Regions from separate parts of the Homo sapiens genome. Here regions 2, 3, 4, 5, 6 and 7 are each linked to region 1. The links are contacts of gene promoters, found by promoter capture Hi-C in human tissues and cell types (Jung and others, 2019). All regions are on one chromosome and are shown on one strand. Each heading gives the region's core, a stretch centred on a gene start or on the middle of the fragment in contact. The rest is flanking DNA. Distances are from core to core; before and after follow the strand shown.

What was found. The method cuts DNA at HindIII sites, captures the fragments that hold promoters and counts their contacts. A contact is called where the count stands out against the background at its distance.
Region 2: a contact is called between a fragment that was not itself captured here and the fragment with the promoter of KCND2 in region 1, in 2 of the 25 tissues and cell types used here (mesenchymal stem cells and small bowel).
Region 3: a fragment that was not itself captured here is called in contact with the fragment with the promoter of KCND2 in region 1 in 1 of the 25 tissues and cell types used here (mesenchymal stem cells).
Region 4: a contact is called between a fragment that was not itself captured here and the fragment with the promoter of KCND2 in region 1, in 2 of the 25 tissues and cell types used here (dorsolateral prefrontal cortex and lymphoblastoid cells).
Region 5: a contact is called between a fragment that was not itself captured here and the fragment with the promoter of KCND2 in region 1, in 4 of the 25 tissues and cell types used here (hippocampus, lymphoblastoid cells, mesenchymal stem cells and 1 more).
Region 6: a contact is called between a fragment that was not itself captured here and the fragment with the promoter of KCND2 in region 1, in 5 of the 25 tissues and cell types used here (dorsolateral prefrontal cortex, heart left ventricle, liver and 2 more).
Region 7: a fragment that was not itself captured here is called in contact with the fragment with the promoter of KCND2 in region 1 in 2 of the 25 tissues and cell types used here (mesenchymal stem cells and mesendoderm cells).

The regions. Positions count from the first base shown.
Region 1 is chr7:120,271,740-120,274,580 of GRCh38, forward strand. KCND2 (potassium voltage-gated channel subfamily D member 2) reads left to right here and starts at 1,436. Exons shown (of 6, transcript NM_012281.3): 1 at 1,436-2,841. RefSeq lists silencers at 523-622, 1,542-1,691 and an enhancer at 2,132-2,201. The HindIII fragment of the contact is 5,227 bases long and covers 387-2,841 here.
Region 2 is chr7:119,816,928-119,819,768 of GRCh38, forward strand. All of the region lies in intron 1 of LINC02476 (long intergenic non-protein coding RNA 2476), which reads right to left. Among named protein-coding and RNA genes, the nearest start is that of LINC02476, 89 kb to the right of the region's middle. The HindIII fragment of the contact is 4,042 bases long and covers 1-2,841 here.
Region 3 is chr7:120,730,074-120,732,914 of GRCh38, forward strand. It overlaps KCND2 (potassium voltage-gated channel subfamily D member 2), which reads left to right. Exons shown (of 6, transcript NM_012281.3): 2 at 2,830-2,841. Among named protein-coding and RNA genes, the nearest start is that of TSPAN12, 130 kb to the right of the region's middle. The HindIII fragment of the contact is 4,011 bases long and covers 1-2,841 here.
Region 4 is chr7:120,710,725-120,713,565 of GRCh38, forward strand. The region is part of intron 1 of KCND2 (potassium voltage-gated channel subfamily D member 2); the gene reads left to right. Among named protein-coding and RNA genes, the nearest start is that of TSPAN12, 150 kb to the right of the region's middle. The HindIII fragment of the contact is 4,297 bases long and covers 1-2,841 here.
Region 5 is chr7:119,845,878-119,848,718 of GRCh38, forward strand. The region is part of intron 1 of LINC02476 (long intergenic non-protein coding RNA 2476); the gene reads right to left. Among named protein-coding and RNA genes, the nearest start is that of LINC02476, 60 kb to the right of the region's middle. The HindIII fragment of the contact is 5,258 bases long and covers 1-2,841 here.
Region 6 is chr7:119,883,876-119,886,716 of GRCh38, forward strand. The region is part of intron 1 of LINC02476 (long intergenic non-protein coding RNA 2476); the gene reads right to left. Among named protein-coding and RNA genes, the nearest start is that of LINC02476, 22 kb to the right of the region's middle. The HindIII fragment of the contact is 5,156 bases long and covers 1-2,841 here.
Region 7 is chr7:119,918,436-119,921,276 of GRCh38, forward strand. No RefSeq gene overlaps it. Among named protein-coding and RNA genes, the nearest start is that of LINC02476, 12 kb to the left of the region's middle. The HindIII fragment of the contact is 8,566 bases long and covers 1-2,841 here.

The DNA.
Region 1 (2,841 bases), core at 186-2,685:
ATTCCTTAAATCTCTATTCTGTAAACAAATAAACAAACAAAAAATACCCTTTTATCTCTACAGAAAATCCTGTACATGATAAGGATATTTTAAATTCTCTGGTTATTTTCTATACTCATTTTTTAGTTTATATATTTTCTTTGACGTATCCCATTTCAAATTTTCAAGGTTGACACATCATGCCTGTAATCTCTAGGGCTTAAAAGTCAATTTCCGTAAAGTACAACACACAGTCCACTTATTTTACAAACCAAGGGCAGTCAAACCAAGCCATGAAAAGTAATTTTTAGGTAGAAATTAGGCTACTATTCTTCATCAATACAGATGAAGCCTCATTATTGCCAAAGATCTTAATTACTATGATGATGATGATTCAGTAATCTAGATTTAATTTTCAAAGGAATTTCAAAAGGAAACTCTCCACATCTCATCCCACAACTATCCAAATGCAGACTCAAGCCTAAGTAGTATATGTCACATAAACACAAAAAAGGTGGGTGGCAGCGAAGGGGTTTGGGGATGTTTATGTGATCTGACTCTCTGTTGGACCAGTTAATTTTGATCCTTCACCTTCCTAAAGCATCCAAACCTTAGGTGCAGATTTAACTTCTCGCCATCCACGCCATCTAGTGGCTTGTATGTGTTACGTTTGGTTTTAAGGATGATTCCTAATGACTCGGGGGCGGGGTACGCGAAAAACAAAAAGGTTGGTAGCGACAATTTTCCTGTGTCTCTCTACCTCAGTAACCCCTCATACGAACACCTTTAACTCTTTTAACTATTTTAAATATGCGCAGTGATGCGCAGAGAGGATGAAGGGGACGCAAACTTTCAGAGACGCACGCCCCTTGACGATGACATTTAGAAAAGGGCTCCACATCCCTGTTATTCGTAAAGGACGGGAAAAGGAGTTGTGTCAAGACCTCGATCGAGGAGAGTCTCTGATTTTTTGGCAAGTTGGACAGATGGCATATCAATCCCTGCAACGTTAACAATCTGGTTTTGAAAATAAATAAAAACAGAAAGAGGAAATGCACTTAAAAATTCCGCGTCGGAGCTTTGCGGGTCTTGCCTTCCAGTCGCCCCCAGAAGACAACCAATTCCTGCGCATTCCGCTCCGCTCACCCTCCTTCCCAGCTTCTCTCGCTCTCTTTCCCCCCATTTTCCCACGCTCGCCTTGAACCGGGACTCGAGAGGCAGAAGCAAGGCACGGGTCCCCTTTCTCCTCTCCTCCACCAAACCACCGCAGCCCAGCACGTGAAGCTTCCCTTTGTTCATCCGAGGCTCGCTTTTCTCCCCAGCAGATCCACCTGGATGCTCTCCCTCGGTGACATTTTGCGCCGGGGTTGGTGGGTGGCTGGGGTGGAGCGAGAGGAGCCCGAGGGGGCGGGGGCGGAGAAAGGTCAAGCCGAGGGAAAGGCAGGAGACGCCTTTCCTAACCTGCGTGGCGGGGCGTGCGCGCGGTTATTTATTTATTTTCTCCTTATTTATTGATCGCACTAGCAGAGCAGCGCGGGGAGCCCGGGGAGATGCAGGACCACCCACTGGCGGGGAAGCAGCTAGCAGCCCTCCCGCGCCCCCGCGCTGCCGAGCGCCTTCTGCCTCCGCGCTCGGACGAGAGCCCGTGCCGGCCCCGGCCCCGGCCCCACCGCGCCAACGCCGCCCGCCCGGCCGCCCCGCAGCCCCGCCGCCCCGCAGCCCCGCACCGCGCTGGCCAGGCTCCCGCGACAGTGGCCCCGCAGTAAGTTGGCAGGAGCGAGTCCCCTCCGTTCTCGCCTCCCCCGCACCTTTTGAACTTGTTGCTGCTGCTCTGCTCGCCTGCGCCTGGCTTTTGGAAGGTGAAAAGGAGGAGGGAGGCACGGAGGGATGGGGGAAGGGAAAGAAGAGCTCGCTTGAGCTTTATTTATGCTCTCTCGGCGCATCGGATTCGGCTGCTCGCGAGCTGCTTTCTCTCCTCTTCCCTTTCCGGGTGCACGGCGAGGAGAAAGTCTCTATGCAACTAAGCCCCGGCGCGCACTTGGCCAGGTATGTACCGCGGGAGCGGCGCGTTCTGCGCGGAAGCAGATGCTGCTGCCGCCACGGCGGCGGCGGCTGCCAGCTCCTGAGCTCTGTAACTGTCACACTGCACCTGAGCTGAACTTGAAAAGAGAGTGAAGGGGCGATTGGGCGAACGCTTTTGGCAGACACAGAGGGTGTTTGTAGACGTGGGGGAGGAGAATCTCTATTAACGCCCCCCACCGTAACCACTGCACATCACCTCCATCTCTGCAAATACAGCCCGAGGAGTAGAGGCAGCAGCAGCTGGACCCCCAAAGAGAGACGTGGGGCAGCGGCTGTGACCGCATCTCCTGAGCTACAACAACAGGTCGCCTTTTTGAGACTCCTTTGGCGGGAAGGGCTACTTGGAAAGGAAGGTTTGAAAGAGTGAGAAGGGTAGGTGTAAGGGTTCCCTAATTCGTCGAAAGAATTCTATTGGGTGACTCTCGTTCGTCTTCTCTATCCTACACTCCACATACTGACCCTATATTATCCAGACTGTGCCGGGGAGAAATCAAAAACACCTGTTTGAAGAAACGGCTGCACCTGTGTGCTTATTTGTGCCAGAGGGTGGCCTAGCCCACCTGCAGGAAGAGATTTGGCTGGGTTCTGTTGAGGGTGATTGTTAGGACGTTGTATTTTGTTGCCATTATTCCAAATACCTGTCTTGGAGGGAAAGTTGCCCTTCTGAGAACTGTGACTTTACCAGGAGCCCTATCTTGGAATAAGAGTTACACCTCTGGACCACGTTTCTCACTAGTACTTTGCTTGACTGGAGGAAGTGGGTGACTTTTGGCTGCTTCG
Region 2 (2,841 bases), core at 102-2,601, 450 kb before region 1:
TAAACAAAGGGATAACTAATGTTCTGGGAGGGACAGAGTGGGACAGCATGAGAGTTTCTTACATTACTCAGAAAAACATTGAATTTAAAATTTATGAATTGTTTCAGGAATTGTATATTGAATATTTTAAAACTGAGGTTGACTGGGGATAACTGAGACAAGGGAAGCAAAAACCTGAAAGAGTGGAGATCTATTGTAATTCCATTTTATTTTTTTGAGAAATTTATTTACTGTTTTTTCATAATGAGTGCACTCATTTACATTCACACATGCAATGTATGAGTGTTCCTTTTTCTCCCCATCCTCACCAGCACTTGTTATTTTATTTTTATAATGAACATTCTAACTGGTGTGATAAAACATCTAATTTAGTTTTGAGTTACACTTTTCTGATGATCCATGATTTTTAGATTTTCTCATGAATCTGGTAGTCATTTTTATGTTGTATTTTTTAAAAAATGTTGATTAAAGATGGGTTATTATCTTGTCTTTGCTATTGAGTTGTAAGCTGTCGAATTTTTAAATGTATTTTAACTATTAACCATTTTTCCAACAAATTGTTTGCAAATATTTTTTCCATACATTAGGTTGCTTTTTCACACTAATGCCAGTTCCTTTTGCTGTGTAAAAGCACTTTGGTTGATCTAATCTCATTTGTCTATTTTTACAATTGTTGTCTGTGTTATAGCAGTTACGTTCAAAGAAATCTTTTCCCAGTGATATGGTTTGGCTGTATCCCCACCCAAATCTCATCTTGAATTGTAGCTCCCATAATTCCCATGTATTGTGGGAGGAACCCAGTGGGAGATGATTGAATCATGGGGGCAGTTTCCACCATACTGTTCTTGTGGTAGTCAATGTCTCATGAGAGCTGATGGTTTTATAAGGGGAAAGCCCTATTGCTGGACTCCCATTTTCTTCTCTTGTCTGCCGCCATGTGAGAAGTGCCTTTCACCTTTAGCCATGATTGTAAGGCCTCCCCAACCATGTGGGACTGTGAGTCCATTAAACGTCTTTCTTTTGTAAGTTGCCTAATCTCCGGTATGTCTTTATCAGCAATGTGAAAACAGACTAATAAAGTTCATTGGTATCAGAAGAGTGGGGCACTGCTGAAAAGAGGCTCGAAAATGTGAAAGCAACTTTACAACTGGGTAACAGGTGGAGGTTGGAACAGTTTGAAGGGCTCAGAAGAAAACAGGAAAATGAGTGAAACTTAAGAACCTCCTAGAGTCTTATTGAATGGCTTTGAATGGAATGCTGATAATGATTGGACAATGAAATCCAGGCTGAGATGGTCTCAGATGGAAATAAGGAACTTTTTGGGAACTTGAGCAAAGGTAACTCTTGTTATGTTTTAACAAAGAGACTGACATAATTTTGCCCCTGCCCTAGAGACTTGTGGAACTCTGAACTTGAAGGAGATGATCCACAGAAGTTCAGAAAATTTGCAGCCTGATGATGTTATAGAAAAGAAAAATCCATTTTCTGAGGAGAAATTTGAGCCAGCTGCAGAAATTTGTGTAAGTAATGAGGAGACAAATGTTAACCACTAAGACAGTAAGAAAAATATCTCCAGGGCATGTCAGAGGTCTTCATGGCAGGCCCCCGCATCAAAGGCCTGGAGGCCTAGGAAAAAGAAATGGTTTTGTGGGCTGGGTACAGGGTCCCCCTGCTGTGTAATGCCTAGAGATATGGTGCCCTGTTTCCAGCTGCTACAGCTGGGGCTGAAGGGGGCCAATGTAAAGCTTGGGCTGTGGCTTCAGAGGGTTCAAGCCCCAAGCATTGGCAGCTTCCACATGCTGTTGAGTCTTTGAGTGCAAAGAAGTCAAGAATTGGCATTTGGGAACCTCTGCCTAGATTTCAGACCATGTATACAAATTCCTGGACGTCCAGGCAGAAGTTTGATACAGAGATAGGGCCCTCACGGAGAACGTCTGCTAGGGCAGTGCTGAAGGGAAGTGTGGGGTTGAAGCCCCACACAGAGTCCCCACTGGGGTGCTGCCCAGTGGAGCTGTGAAGAGGGCCACCATCCTCCAGATCCCAGAATGATACGTCCACAGACAGCTTGCACCGTGCACCTGGAAAAGCCAGACATTCAACACCATCTTGTGACAGCAGCCATGGGGGAGGCTGTACCCTGCAAAATCACAGGAGTGGAGCTGCACAAGACCATGGGAACCCACCTCTTGCATCAGTGTGACCTGGATGTGAGCCATGGAATCAAAGGAGATCATTTTGAAGCTTTAATATTTGACTCCTCCACTGGATTTCAAAGGGGCTATAGGCCCCTTTGTTTTGGCCAATTTCTCCTATTTGGAATGACTATATTTACCCAATGCCTGTACCCCCATTGTATCTAGGAAGTAACTAACTTGCTTTTGATTTTACAGGCTCATAGGTGGAAGGGACTTGCCTTGTCCCAGATAAGACTTTGGACTATGGATTTTTGAGTTAATGCTGAAATAACTTAAGACTTTGGGGGACCGTTGGGAAGGCATGATTGGTTTTGAATGTGAGGACATGAGATTTGGATGGGGCCAGGTATAGAATGATATGGTTTGGCTGTGTCCTCACCCAAATCTCACCTTGAATTGTAGCTCCCATACTTCTTTCATGTTGTCGGAGGGACCCAGTGTGAAATGATGGAATCATGGGGATGGTTTTCCCCATACTGTTTGTGTAGTAGTGAGTAAGTCTCACGAGATTTGATGGTTTTATAAGGAGAAACCCTTTATTTGGCTCTCATTATCTTATCTTGTCTTCCACCATGTGAGACATGCCTTTCACCTTTAGCCATGATTGTGAGGATTCCCCAGCCATGTGAACTGTGAGTCTATTAAA
Region 3 (2,841 bases), core at 121-2,620, 460 kb after region 1:
AGAAACTATATGATGGATTCACTTAGCTAGTTTATATATTTATATTTTAAAAGGCTTATTTTAATTACATGGACTCAGTCCTTGTATTCTTTAGCCATAATAAATAATTGAGTTTTTATTAAAAATCAAATCCCTTTTTTAAAAGCCGTGTGTGTGTGTGCGCGCGTGCGTGTGTGTGTCTGTGTATGTACCTTCTCTGGGGCTTACTGCATAATCAGTGTGAAGGGGAAAAACATTGTGTATAAAATATGACTGGACATTCAATGTGAACTGTGACAGATACATAATTTGGCTCATATGTACACAGCATTGTATAAAAAGGAGTTGACCTTCCAATCCCACTGACATACCTCTACAGTAAGAATATCCCCAAGACTTTTGAAAATCATCTTCTAAATTCCTTTAGCTTTCACTGTTTCTTCACTAACATAACCTTTAGATTATAATTTAGCTTCCCAGATAGAAGGAGATCGTGTTTTATATGAACACAGCATTCTGGTTCTTAGGTTATTATTTTTGTACTATAAATTAATACTGTTATTCTGGTGCCAAAGCCTTGTGGGAACTTCAGCTATGTTAAATTAGCTCAACTACTGATCACCCACAAACACCAACAGGAATGAGTACCTGGATCTTCAAATCAAAGGACCAGAGCTCAGAATAGGGTCACTAAATGTGGCACTAGATAGTATCACCTTCTGTCTCTCTCAACAGTTTTTCTTCAGCCAATTCCTCTCCATCTCCATATTGACACACATATGTTTTCCCACAAAACAATGTTAGAGTGACTATTGCCTAGGCTACCTCTCAAGATACAATATAACCCCAAGTCCTCCTAAACTCCCTTGAGCATGGATTCTAGTATGTGAGTTCCTTTGATCCCTGTCTCTCAGGACTACACTCTCTGAGCATTGAGCTCTCCAAAGCCCCAGAGTAAGCATGGAGTAGTTGGAGCTCAGACACAGCTGGGTAACTTCGGCAATAGTAAGATGGAAAGAACTCCTCCTTGTCCCCCGCCCCAGGAGTGCACTCTAGACAAAGTCTCCATCAGTAAAGAAGAGAAAGTGTACTCATTCAACTAATATGTAGTAGGAGCTGGCCTTATGCTCACGAAACACAAAGTAGAACTGCTCCTGCTTTAGCAATTTTACATTCTAATGTCAGTAGGGTGGATGAGGAGTGAAAAAATAAATCAATAAATAAGAAAATGTTACTTGTTAATAAGTACTCTGAAGACAGTCAAATGAGGAAATGTTACAGAGAATGAATAGGAAAGAGAATAAGACTACTGTGAATTAGGTGGCCAGAAAATCACTTGGATGGAGACATTTAAATGGCACCCTGAATAATCACCATCTGGGGGCTGCACACAAAACAGAAGGCCAGATGGCCAGTGTGGCCAGAGGCCAGTGAGCTTGGTGAAAGGTGGTGTAAAATACAGGCAGGAACTAAATGAGGTAGGCCCTTGGAGGCAAAACTGAGGAGTTTGGATTTATTTCAGTTTCAAGTCCATGTCAGGGTTTAAGCAACATAGCAGTAGTCCAATCTCCATTTTTAAAACCAAAGTTCTGGCTGCTATGTTGGCATGAATTGTAAAGTGCTAAATGTAGAAAGGAGAGTCAGGTAAGAAGCTATATCTATGGCTCTGGCAAGAAATGACCACGGTTTGGTTTATTGTCATAAAGAGACTTGAATGGGATACAATTTGGTTTGCACAGAGACAACAAGACCAGCTAAGAGATGAAACGTTGATACTGGCAATTAAGGCGATGGCTCTTCCAATTTTGGTATGAACAACTGCATGGTGGTGATTATGTTTAATTATAAGTGGCAGAATTGTGGGGGGAAAATATTTGAGAGAGGAAGAGGAAGCTAGGGAAATGAGAGTTCCATTTTGGTTAATTTAAATTTTAATGGGCTCTTAGGCATCCAGGGGTAGAAATAATCAGACCAGACCACTCAAGATATGAATCTGATTTTCAGGAGAGACATCATGGCTGTCAATATAAATCAAGAGCATCAGCTGCATAGAGATAGTTTTAAGCTATGAGATTGGACAAAGTCACATAGGAAGTGGGTTTATATGGAGAAGATAAGAGGACGGAAGACTGAGACCTAAAGTACTCTAAGGTTTAGAAATCAGATAAGGGGAAAGGAGGCAGAAAAAAAGATGGAGAAGTGGTAGCCAATGAGATAGGAGGGAAAATAAGAATATTTTCTAATACTAAAGCCAAGAATAAAAGGAGTCTTTCAAGGAGAGAATAGTCAACTAATAAGCTACAAATGAGAGATTGAGTTAGATTTTTATGGAGAAATGGCCATTAGATTTCACAAGTGAAGGTTAATGGGGACCTTGAAAAGTTTATTTTTTAAATGATGACATCTGGTGAAAGGAATGTGATGTGCTACTTTTTCTACTTAAATTTCATAACCAATTGAATGTTGAAAAAACTAAGTGGAAAATTGTGTTATCCAGACTCTAAATTTCAGCATAGAATTATTGAGTATTAAATAAATGTAAAGAACTGTGTCATGGCATATAAAGGAAAAATTGAAGAGCTATCATTACATCATCTGACTTAAAATATTTTCCAATCAAAAAGATTACTTAATGTTAGAATCACTTTCTATAAGGTTGAAAGGTAATTTTTATATTCAGATATTTATAATTTCTGACATTAAAGTCTGAAGCCATATATATTATAGTCACAAAGTAGAAATAGATATGTCCAAAAAATCATTTGACTTAAAGGAAAAAATTCTTAGTTTCAGGTAGAAATGTCTTTCTGTGACTTAAAACAATATATATATATTTTTTCTTTAACTCAGGTATGGTGACAT
Region 4 (2,841 bases), core at 248-2,747, 440 kb after region 1:
CTGTTTGACAGATGAGAAAACCTAGTCTTATAAACGTTGAGGAACTCACATAGCTAATCAATGGCAGCATTATAATTTGCACCCAGGGCTGGCAAAGCATGCATTCATACCCAATTCATTCTCGATAAGCTCACTAAAGCCAAAGATAATGTCTGTATGCTTTGACCAAACTAGAACTATTATATCTTTTTTATAATTTTCATTAGTCATTTAGCTCCAGTATATTCGTATGCCCTTGATTATACATTTTTATTCTGTATACATTGTTTCTTATATATTTTCTACTTTTCTTCCACAATTTATTTGGTGATATAAAATATACAAGTGTATTTTCTTAAATTACATTACAATTAGAACTATGCATATGACACAAAAATACGAAATGTAGATGATATATATTTTATATACATTTGTTACATAATATAAACATGATTAAATAAAAGATGACAAATTAGATTTATGAATTGTGTGAGAGATGTCATATCTCACATAAAGACACTGAATTTAGCATTTGATCAAAAATTCAAAGATACAGATTTCATCAGTACAGTCCTTATACACATTTAAATTTCTGAGTGTATATTTTGCATTCTATGTAATATTTATTATTTATTCAGTAAAACCAAAGATTAGTATATGCAAAGCAATGAATTCAACATTGTATTTGCAATGACTTGCATTCCCTTTACAAAGATGCTTAAAGCAGTTTAACATCTGATAGCTATGAAGATGAACTTTTTCAAACTTAAGAAATTCTAGAGGCCCACGTTGAAAGATAATATATTCCCTTATGAAAACAAGTAGAACTAAATAGGCGATGGAGAATGTTAAGCTAGAAAGGGGACCCAGAGGGCTCCCTACATTGAATCACATGAGGATATACCCGTTCTTGTAATTGAAGACTTGACATTAATTATTTGTATTTCTTTATGAACAAGTAAAAGGCTTTAAATAGTTTTTGTAATTTATAGAAGTTCTGTTCAGGTTTAGTTGATAAAATATTCTGGTTCTATTCCTTGAGATTTCAGTTTCTGAGCAACAGCAGTTCAAAAATGATTTGTAAGATTGAGTTTATTTTTTATTTTAATGTAAGGGTTCACCAAAGTCCATATTTATAGTTAGAATCATAATTTATTTAAATACTGGGTGATAATCAGGCAAGTCAATAAATGAACAAATCAAAATACACAGGCTAAAGTGAGTAGTAAAAGAGCTTATTGTGTAACAAAGACTAAATAATTTAAAGCAAAATTAAGGTGAGTACTATGCTTCATTCAATAGTTGATGTCTCAGGTGCTTCCTTCCAATTTAAAAGATGAAGAGGAGCTGACTTGATCGGTCCTAGCTGATGTTCCTTGTCCTACCTTCTGTCAATATGAACCACAAAAGCACTGAAATAAGAAAGCTTTTTTTTTTTTTTTGTCGTGGTACGTCTAATTCTTACATGTATCTGAAGAGTCTATTTAATTCATAAAACTTCTATTTTGTGGGTTTTCTTTGAATTTTGGATATCTGAATTTTTTTTTTTTTTTTTTTTTTTTTTTTTTTTTTTTTTTTGAGATGGGGTCTTGCTCTTTCACCCAGGCTGGAGTGCAGTGGCGTGATCTTGGCTCACTGCAACCTCTGCCTCCCCAGTTCAAGTGATTCTCCTGCCTCAGCTTCCCAAGTAGCTGGGATTATAGGTGCCCGCTACCACGCCCATTTTTTTTTTTCTCCAGTAGAGGCAGGGTTTCACCATGTTGCCTTGGCTGATCTTGAACTCCTGACCTCAGGTGATCCACCTGCCTTGGCCTCCCAAAGTGCTGGGATTATAGGCATGATCCACTGCGCCTGGCCTGAAATGTGCTTTTTGATTTAGTTTTGTAGTGTAAGAGGAATACAAATGAATAAAAGACTAATAGATAAGGAGAACAGACAAATGTCCATAATGAAAAGTGCAAAACATGTCCATCTAAGAGAATAAATTTTATTTGGTTTTAAAATAGAAGGAAACGAAAAGAAATAGTAATCTTAAATTAGAAGTTCAAAAATCAGCTACAGGTTTCTGAAGTGATGGCTCAGCCTAAATTTTCTGAACAAATGTGTAACCTATCCCGATTTCCTTCTTGAAAGACTTATTTTCATCTGCAAGGTCCAGAATGCCTGGGTACGATTTAAGCTCTGCCATTAATAAGCATGCACAACACCTGTAGATGTAGTCTTATTTATAAATAGGATCATAAGACTGCATATCAGCTCTTTTAAAAATGTGAGGTCATGCCCACGTAGCCCTTGTCACCTCTCCTGTGATTATCCCTGCAAGAATTTAGCCTTGCTAAGCCTCCTTTCCCTTACCTGTAATAAAGGTGTAATATTAATAGCCACCTCATTGTGAGGTTACGAACTTATTATAAATGTATTTTTCCATATAAGGTTCTTAGCATAGTGTCCAATAAATGTTATTTATTGTTTAGCCAAGGAGGACTAAAGCTCAGCCCTTTATAAGAGAAGCTCCTAGGAAGTCCATGAACCTTCATGCACCAACTCAGCCTCCAAGAGCAGAGTCTGCCTGGATCTGAATAGGACACTTTGGTGTAATAATCTCCATCACGAACTGGGAAGTAGGAAGTGAATATTCGTATCTCCACATTCCACACATAGGAAACCATCTTAAATAAGCTAGATTATTGAGTACAATGTCACATGGCTAGCAGGAGACAGAGCTGAACTTGACCACAGGTCTTCTGATTTCATGTCTTGCCAAATGAGAAAAACTCACAGTCATGTTCCTTCAAATAAAATGTCATCAACTGTGAAACAGTAGGAAAGAGCTACTCTAGTGTTCAGCAATCAGTAGCAGTA
Region 5 (2,841 bases), core at 130-2,629, 430 kb before region 1:
CCCAAAAAAGGAAACAGAAAACTTGAATGACATAATAAATTAAATGGAACTAAAAAGCATATATGGAAAATTCCATTAAACAACTGAAGAATGCACATTCTTCTCAAGCATGCATAGAACATTCCCAAGCATAGATCACATATTAGGTCAAAAAACAAGTGTTAACCCATTTAGGAAGATTGAGGTTATACTGAGTATCTTTTTTGACCACAATAAAATAAAAAAAGAAATCAATAAAGGAAGGAAAACTAAAAAAATCAGAAATATGTGAAAATTAACACAGTACTGAACAAGCAATACTTCAAAGAAAAAATTTAAAAAAATTAGACAACATCTTGATACAAACGAAAAGAAAAAATATAGCATAAAAATTGATAAAATACAGCAAATGCAGTACTAAGAGGAAAGTTTACACTGGTAAAACTCTACATGAAAAAGAAAGCATATTATTTAAACCACCTAATTTTATACCTCAAGCAACTCTAAAAAAGGAACAAGCAAAATCCAAAGTTACGAGTAGGAAGGAAAAAAAAAAGCTATTGTCAAGTTTCTTGATGTTTTCAGAAAACAAAGTTTTATTTCTCTTTATTTTTAAATCGTTACTCTATTATATATTTCGTTTATTTCTAATCTTTTTTTTTTTTGTAAGGAGATTGAATTGGTAATTAAAAATCTCCTGACAAAGAAAAGCTTAGGACCATGTCTTCACTGGATATGTCAAGCAAACATTTACAGAAGAATTAATACTAATCCTTCTCAACTTCTTCCAAAACAACTGAAGAGGAAAGAATACTTACTCATTTTATGAGGCCACCATTATCCTGATACCAAAGCCTGGCAAAGACATTATAAGAAAATAAAATTGCAGGCTAATACCCCTTATAAATATAGATGCAAAAATGTTCAACAAAATATTAGAAACCCATAGTCAATAGCACATTAAAATAGCCATATACCATGATCAAGTGGGACTTATTCTTGGGATGCAAGAATGGTTCAACATACAAAAATAAATGTGATACACCAAGGTTAAAAATTACATGATCATCTCAGTAGACATAGAATGAAGCATTGAAAAAAACATTCAACATCCTTTTATGATAAAAGAAGTCAAACTAAGAATAAAAGGATATAACCTCAACATAAAAAGGCCATATATCAGAAAGCAACACCTTACACACAAACACACACACACACACACACACAGTTAAGATAATAAATGAATTCAGCAATTGCAGCATACAAAATGTATATGCAAAAGCCAGTGTTTATGTAAAATAACAACAAACAATCCACAAAGAAAATCTTTTTAAAAGTCTAATTTTTAATAATAACAAAGGAATATAATACTTAGGAACAAACTTAAATGAGAAAGTAAAATACATACCGAAAACACTGATGAAAGGAATTAAAGATGCAAGTAAATGGAAATGTAACCTGTGTTTGTGGATTGGAAGACCTAATGTTGTTGAAATATCCATACTAACCAAAATAACTAATTATAGATCCTATGCAATACCTATCAAAACGTGGTATATAACATATAATGGAATTTTATTCAGTCTTAAAAAATAAAATCCTGGTCAGGTGTGGTGGCTCACACCTTTAATCCCTGCACTTTAGGAGGCCATGGAGGGCGCATCAGTCTGAGGTCAGGAATTCGCGACCATCCTGGGCAACATGGGTAAACCTCTTCTCTATTAAAAGTACAAAAATTAGCCAGGCGTTGTGGAGCGTGCCTGTAATCCCAGCTTCTCGGGAGGCTGAGGCAGGAGAATCGCTTGAATCCAGGAGGTGGAGTTTGCAGTGAGCTGAGATCACACCACTGCACTCCATCCTGGGTGACAGAGCGAGACTCAGTCTAAATAAACAAAAATCCTGCCATATACTACACAGATGAAACTGACATCATTATACTAGGTGAAATAAACCAGACAGAAGGACAGATAGTGCATGGTTCTGTTAAATGAGATATCCAAAATAGTAAACTCATATAAAGTAGAATGATGGTTTCCATTGTCTGCCAAGAAGGAAAATGAGGTGTTATTCTTCAATGGATACAGAGTTTTTGTCACGCAAGATGAAAATGTCTAAAGATCTGCAGTAAAAAAGTATACATATGGTTGACAATACCATAAAGTATACTTAAAAACTTACTGAGAGGTTAGATTTTATAAGTAATTTACCACAAAAAAATGGAAGCTTACTTTCTGGATCACTAAGAATGGAGTATTATGGAACTAAAATACAGATGTATATTAGGAAGTACAGAGATAGCAGTGTCTAAGTGTCCAAAGATACTATTAGCTTTAATAAGTTTCACGAATTTGTCCAATTACAGAGTCCACTAACACAGAGTGGCCCTAGAAAGAGACTGATGGATGAATAATATTTCTCACTGAAAATTAAAAACTGCTACTATTTAGGGAAACCAGAGATGGTAATAATGGCACATCAAGAGCATTACATTTATGTATAGATTTTATATTGCATCTGTTGCCGTTGTTATTATATATTTTAATGTTATTTCTATTTTTAAGCTCTTCAAGCTGACACTTTCACCTACCTCGTGTATCAACAGAAATTGTTTAATTTCCTCACATCTACACTCCTATATGGCTCGTTACATGGATATATACGCTATTTTTATATTTCTCAATGCTGACAAATAAAGATTAAAATGTTTACATCTAATGATCCTTTAGGTAATTTTTAAATAAAGAATACCTAATTATATCTTAACTTTTCAATCAACTGCAAGGTCTTCCAAATTTTTTAATGTAATACCTTATTTGAAAATAAAATTAATTTAAATATTTTGACCTAAATAACTTTTAAAAT
Region 6 (2,841 bases), core at 161-2,660, 390 kb before region 1:
TGTTATTCCCTGTCTTTTGGATAAAAACCATTTTAACTGGGGTGAGATAATATCTCATTGTAGTTTGATTTGCATTTATCTGATGATCAATGATGTTGAGTACCTTTTCATATGACTGTTTGCCATTTGTATGTCTCTCTTTGAGAAATGTCTATTCTGATCTTTTCCTTACTTTGTAATTGGATTATTAGATTTTTTTCCTACAAAGTTGTTCGAACTCCTCATATATTCTTGTTATGAATCCCTTGTGAGATGGGTAGTTTGCAAATATTTGCTTCCATTCTGTGGGTTGTCTTTTCACTTTGTTTATTGTATCTTTGCTTTACAGAAGCTTTTAAACTTGATGTGATTCTACTTATGAATTTTTGTTTTGATTGTCTGTGCTTGTAGTGTATTGCTCAGGAAACATTTGCCCACACCAAAGTCCTGGAGACTTTCCCCAATATTTTTTTGGGTTAGTTTCATAGTTTGAAGTCTTAGATTTGTCTCTAATCCATTTTGATTTGATATTTGTATATGGCAAGAGACAGGGGACTAGTTTCATTCTCCTGCATATAGATATCCAGTTATCCCAGCACCATTTACTAAAGAAACTGTCCTTTCCCCATTGTATATTCATGACATCTTTGTCAAAATTTAGTTCACTGTAGATGTATGGATTTGTTTCTGGGTTCTCCATTCTATTCCCTTGGTCTGTATGACTGTGGCTTTTTATTTTCTGCCACTACCATGCTGTTTCGGTTACTATTGCTCTGTAGTATAACATGAATCAGGTAACGTGATTCCTGCAGTTTTGTCTTTTTGCTCATGATGGCTTTGGCACTTCTGGTCTTTTGTGGTTCCATGTATATTTTAGGATAGTTTTTATTTTATTTCTGTGAAGAATGTCATGGGTACTTTGATAGGCATTGCATTGAATCTACAGATTTCTTTAAGTAGTATGAACATTTTAGCAATATTGATTATTTCCATCTGTGAACATAGAGTATCTTTCCATGTTTTGGTGTCCTCTTCAATTTTTTCCAACAATGTTTCTACTTGTCCATTTTCATGTTACTATGAAGAAATATCCAAGACTAGGTGATTTACAAACAAATATAGGTTTAATGGACTCACAGTTCCACATGGCTGAGGAGGCTAACAATCATGTTGGAAGGCAAAGGGGGAACAAAGGCATGTCTTACATGGTGGCAGGCAAGAGAGCATGTGCAGGGGAACTGCCCTTTATAAAATGATAAGATCTCATAGACTTATTTACTATCATGAGAACAGCACAGGAAAAACACACTCCAATGATTCAATTACCTCCCACCAGGTCCCTCTCAGGACATGTGGGGATTACAGGTGCTAAAATTCAAGATGAGATTTGGGTTGGGAAAGAGCCAAACCATATCATTCCACTTTTGGCCCCTCCCAAATCCCACGTCCTCACATTTCAAAACCAGTCATGCCTTCCCAACAGTCCCCCAATGTCTTAACTCATTTCAGCATTAACTCAAAAGTTCACAGTCCAAATTCTCATCTGAGACAAGGCAAGTCCTTCTGCCTATGAGCCTGTTAAATCAAAAGCAAGTTAGTTACTTCCTAGATACAAGGGGGGTACAGATACTGCATAAATACACTCATTCCAAATGAGAAAAATGGCCAAAATGAAGGGGCTACAGGCCCCGTGCAAATCTGAAATCCAGTAGGGCAGTCAAATCTTAAAGCTCCAAAATGATCTCCTTTGACTCTATGTCTCGCATCCAGCTCATGCTGATGCAAGTAATGGGTTCCCATGGTCTTGGGCAGCTTCACCCCTGTGGCTTTCCAGGGTACAGCCACCCTTCTGGCTGCTTTCACAGGCTGGCATTGAGTAACTGTGGCTTTCCCACGCACATGGTACAAGGTGTTGGAAGAGCTACCATTCTGCATTCTGAAGGATGGTGGCTCTCTTCTCATAGCTCCACTAGGCAGTTCCCCAGTGGAGAATCTGTGTGTGGGGGGCTCCAACCCACATTTTCGTTTGGTACTGCCCTAGCAGGGGTTCGCCATGAGAGCTTCACTCCTGCAGTACACCCCGCATGGACATCCAGGCATTTGCATACATCCTATGAAATCTAGGCAGAGGATAGATGCTTGTCTTCTCAATTCTTGTCTTCTGCACATCCACAGAACCAACACCATATGGAAGCTGCCAAGGCTCGGGGCTTACCCTTTGAAGCCATGGCCTGATTGCATGTTGGCCACTTTTAGCCATGGCTGGAGTGGCTGGGATGGACGGCACAAACTCCCTAGGCTGCACACAGCAGGAAGGCCCTGGGCCTGGCTCAGAAAACTATATTTCCCTTCTAAGCCTGAGGCCTGTGATGGGAGGTGCTGCCATGAAGGTCTCTGACATGCCCTGAAGATATTTTCCCTATTGTCTTGGTGATTAACATTTGGCTTCTCGTTACTTATGCAAATTTCTGCAGCAGGCTTGAATTATTCCCCAGAAAATGATTTTTTTCTTTTTTTATACTGCACTGTCAGCCTGTAAATTTTGTAAACTTTTAAACTGTTTTTTTTTTAAAAATACTTTGCCACTTAGAAATTTCTTCTGCCAGGTACCCTAAATAATATCTCTTAAGTTCAACGTTCCACAGAACTCTAGGGCAGGGGCAAAATGCTGCCAGTCCCTTTGCATAGCAAGAGTAACTTTTACTCCAGTTCCCAAGAATTTCTCCATCGCCATTTGAGACCACATCAGCCTAGACTTTATTGCCCATATCACTATCAGCATTTTGGTCAAAGCTATTCAACAAATCTGCAGGAAGTTCCAAGCTTTCCCACATCTTCCTTTCTTCTGAGCCCTCCAAGTCT
Region 7 (2,841 bases), core at 93-2,592, 350 kb before region 1:
TTACTACCTGATTTTGAGTGTCTGAAAACTCTTCTTTCATATGTTTTTCTGCTATTTTTAGTTGTTTAAGATGGCAGAGTAAATCTGTCACACCATTATAAACAGATGTTTATGTCACCAGTTCATTAACAGCAAGTTTAAAGATTGCTTGAGGCCAGGAATTCAAGACCAGCCTTAGCAATAGAGATAGACCCTGTCCCTAAATAATAATTAAAAAAAAAAAAAAGTCAGGCATACTGGTGCACATCTGTGATCCCAGCTATTCAGGAGGCTGAAGTGGGAGGATCACTGGAGCCCAGGAGAGGTTGATGCTGCAGTAAATTATCACTGGGCTGCCGTACTCCAGCTTGGGTAATAGAATGAGACTCTTCTCTAAAAATAAATAAATCAGTACATAATAAAATAAGTTTGAAGATGAATGACATTTTTAAAAGTTATCAATAATAAAACAACTTTTGAACAACCAATGGAAGATGAAAAAAAGGCTTACAATTTTCTCTATAGAAATATTATTATAAAATATTACCTAAAAGACAATAAAATAATAGAAAAATACAGAAAATTATTGTAGAGTATGTCACATAATATATTTTCTTGTTTTTCTGTATTTTATTATGTTGTGTCAGCTTCTTGAAATTTATGATTATGATATATTTTCTCTGTCTAAATAAATATTCCATACCGTATGTATTTTTTGTTTCTTCTTTTGTTTTAACCTAAAGATGTTCACCAAATTGTGTAAATTTAAGCTTCAAAAAAATGGATTCACCATTGCCATTATATGGAGTACAAAAATAAACACTGAAAGAAAAATTTAATTGTGCAGTAATTCTAATTGTTTTGCATTTGATATCTTTCTTCAATTAAAATTGTATCACACTTGATTTGGATTCAAATGTTCCCATTGTCTTTTAAACCTCAGAAAATTATCAAGGTATTTTCTGTTATTTGTACATCTTGTTCCATGATCTTAAAAATGTTACTGGTGCAATAGCACCTTGAACATATTACTTCTCTCCATTTAAGCATCTTCTTCTTTTAAATAATAAAAGAAAAATATCTTTATTATTATAGAGTAAACAAAAATAGGAGCTTGGCATACATCGGTTAAAAATAACAAAATTCACAAATACATGAAATTAAATAGTATAAAGATTTTGTCAATACCTATTTGCAATTCTCTCATGATTTCCATAGAAATTCACTAATCATGTCATTTTTAAACAACAAAAATAATATTCCTAAGCATAAAATCAATTCAACCTTTTCTCTGTCTAGGTGCCTTCACACATAGAAAGAATCTTCTCCCAATGAATTATGTGTATCTCATAAGTGATGATTTCAACAACTTCTGATGATTTTGATAAAGTTGAAGTTTATATTTCTGTAAATTAGTCACCAGACATTTCTCTTGTTCCATTCAAATGCCTCATTATTATTACATCTGAGATTTCGTATTATTTGCCTTAGGTTGTTGGGCTTTGTAAATGAACAACCACTTTCTGTGATCTCATAAATAATTCCATTTCCTCTACTACTATTCCTTCAATCCCCTCAGCCAAACTGTGTTCCTTCAACACATCTCAAAATATATCTTAGGGAGTCTGTAAACATACTCCTCTCTATCACATAAATTACCATACTTGGGTGGTTTATATCCTCCATTCTCCTCCTTTATTTTTTTCTTTCCTTCCCAGACAGTAATCTGAAGGATCTGTGTGGCCTGAAATGGTTTGGGCTTCTAGACAAATTGCTCTATGGTTCTGGCATCATCAGATACAGAATCTGTTGTGTTAAATGCTTTGGAAACATTGGCCAAACTACACTTGGGAAGTGAGACTAAGAAATAGCAGGGACTATTTCTGAGAGATAATATTTAGAATTATTTCAAATGCTTGCATTTGAATGATAGGAAATTTATTTGAATAATGTTCTTCAAAATTGTAGTTTGTGCTTTGGGGAGCCATATTGTTTATGCAAAGCTCACCTAAGAGTTGTCATGAGGTAGAGTGGGATTATAGCAAAAACTAAGAAAATGCTGGAAGTGTTCTCATTTAACAGAAAAATATAGATAAAAACCCTGCTATTACTAGAGTTATCATGTAATGTGTCTAGAAGTTATAATAAGACAAATAAATGATGATCCCAATAAAAGAGGAATATCTATTGGAGGGAAAGTAACACAAAAGTACAAGAATTTCTATAAATATGAATGCATACAGTTACTATCTTTCCTTATACTAGTAATAATATACTCAAGAATTTACTTTGGACACCAATTTTATAAGAAGCAACAAAATGTAGATTATACAATAGAGGTTGTATAGATTGAAAATATTATTGAGAAATTTTTTAAAGTTAACTATTTAGAGAAGCAAATCATATAACTTCCTTACAAGTATTAATTTAGAGGTTTATGATTATCCTCTAATACATGATTTTTTTGGTCAAACTAGATAACGTCATCCTCTGAAACATCTAAAACAACATTCAGTTTTTAATAAATTTCAAAATGTTAATAAATCATTGTGATATTGTAGGATAATATTAATAAATATAAAATACTCAAAGCTATATTAATTTATCCTGGACATTTTAGAATCAAGAATTTGAATAATGGTTCAAACAGTGTGTGTGTGTGTGTGTGTGTGTGTATGTGTGTGTAAGTTAGATTAACCATAGGAAATTACACAAAGTACTATTACCCATGGTTAAATTAATAATTTGTTCTTTATTCCTTTAAATTGCCTATTTTGTTATGTAGTCCTATCAATTCTACACCTGAAATCAATCTTAAATTTTCAACTTGTTTTCCTCTACACTGTCACTACCCCTATAAAC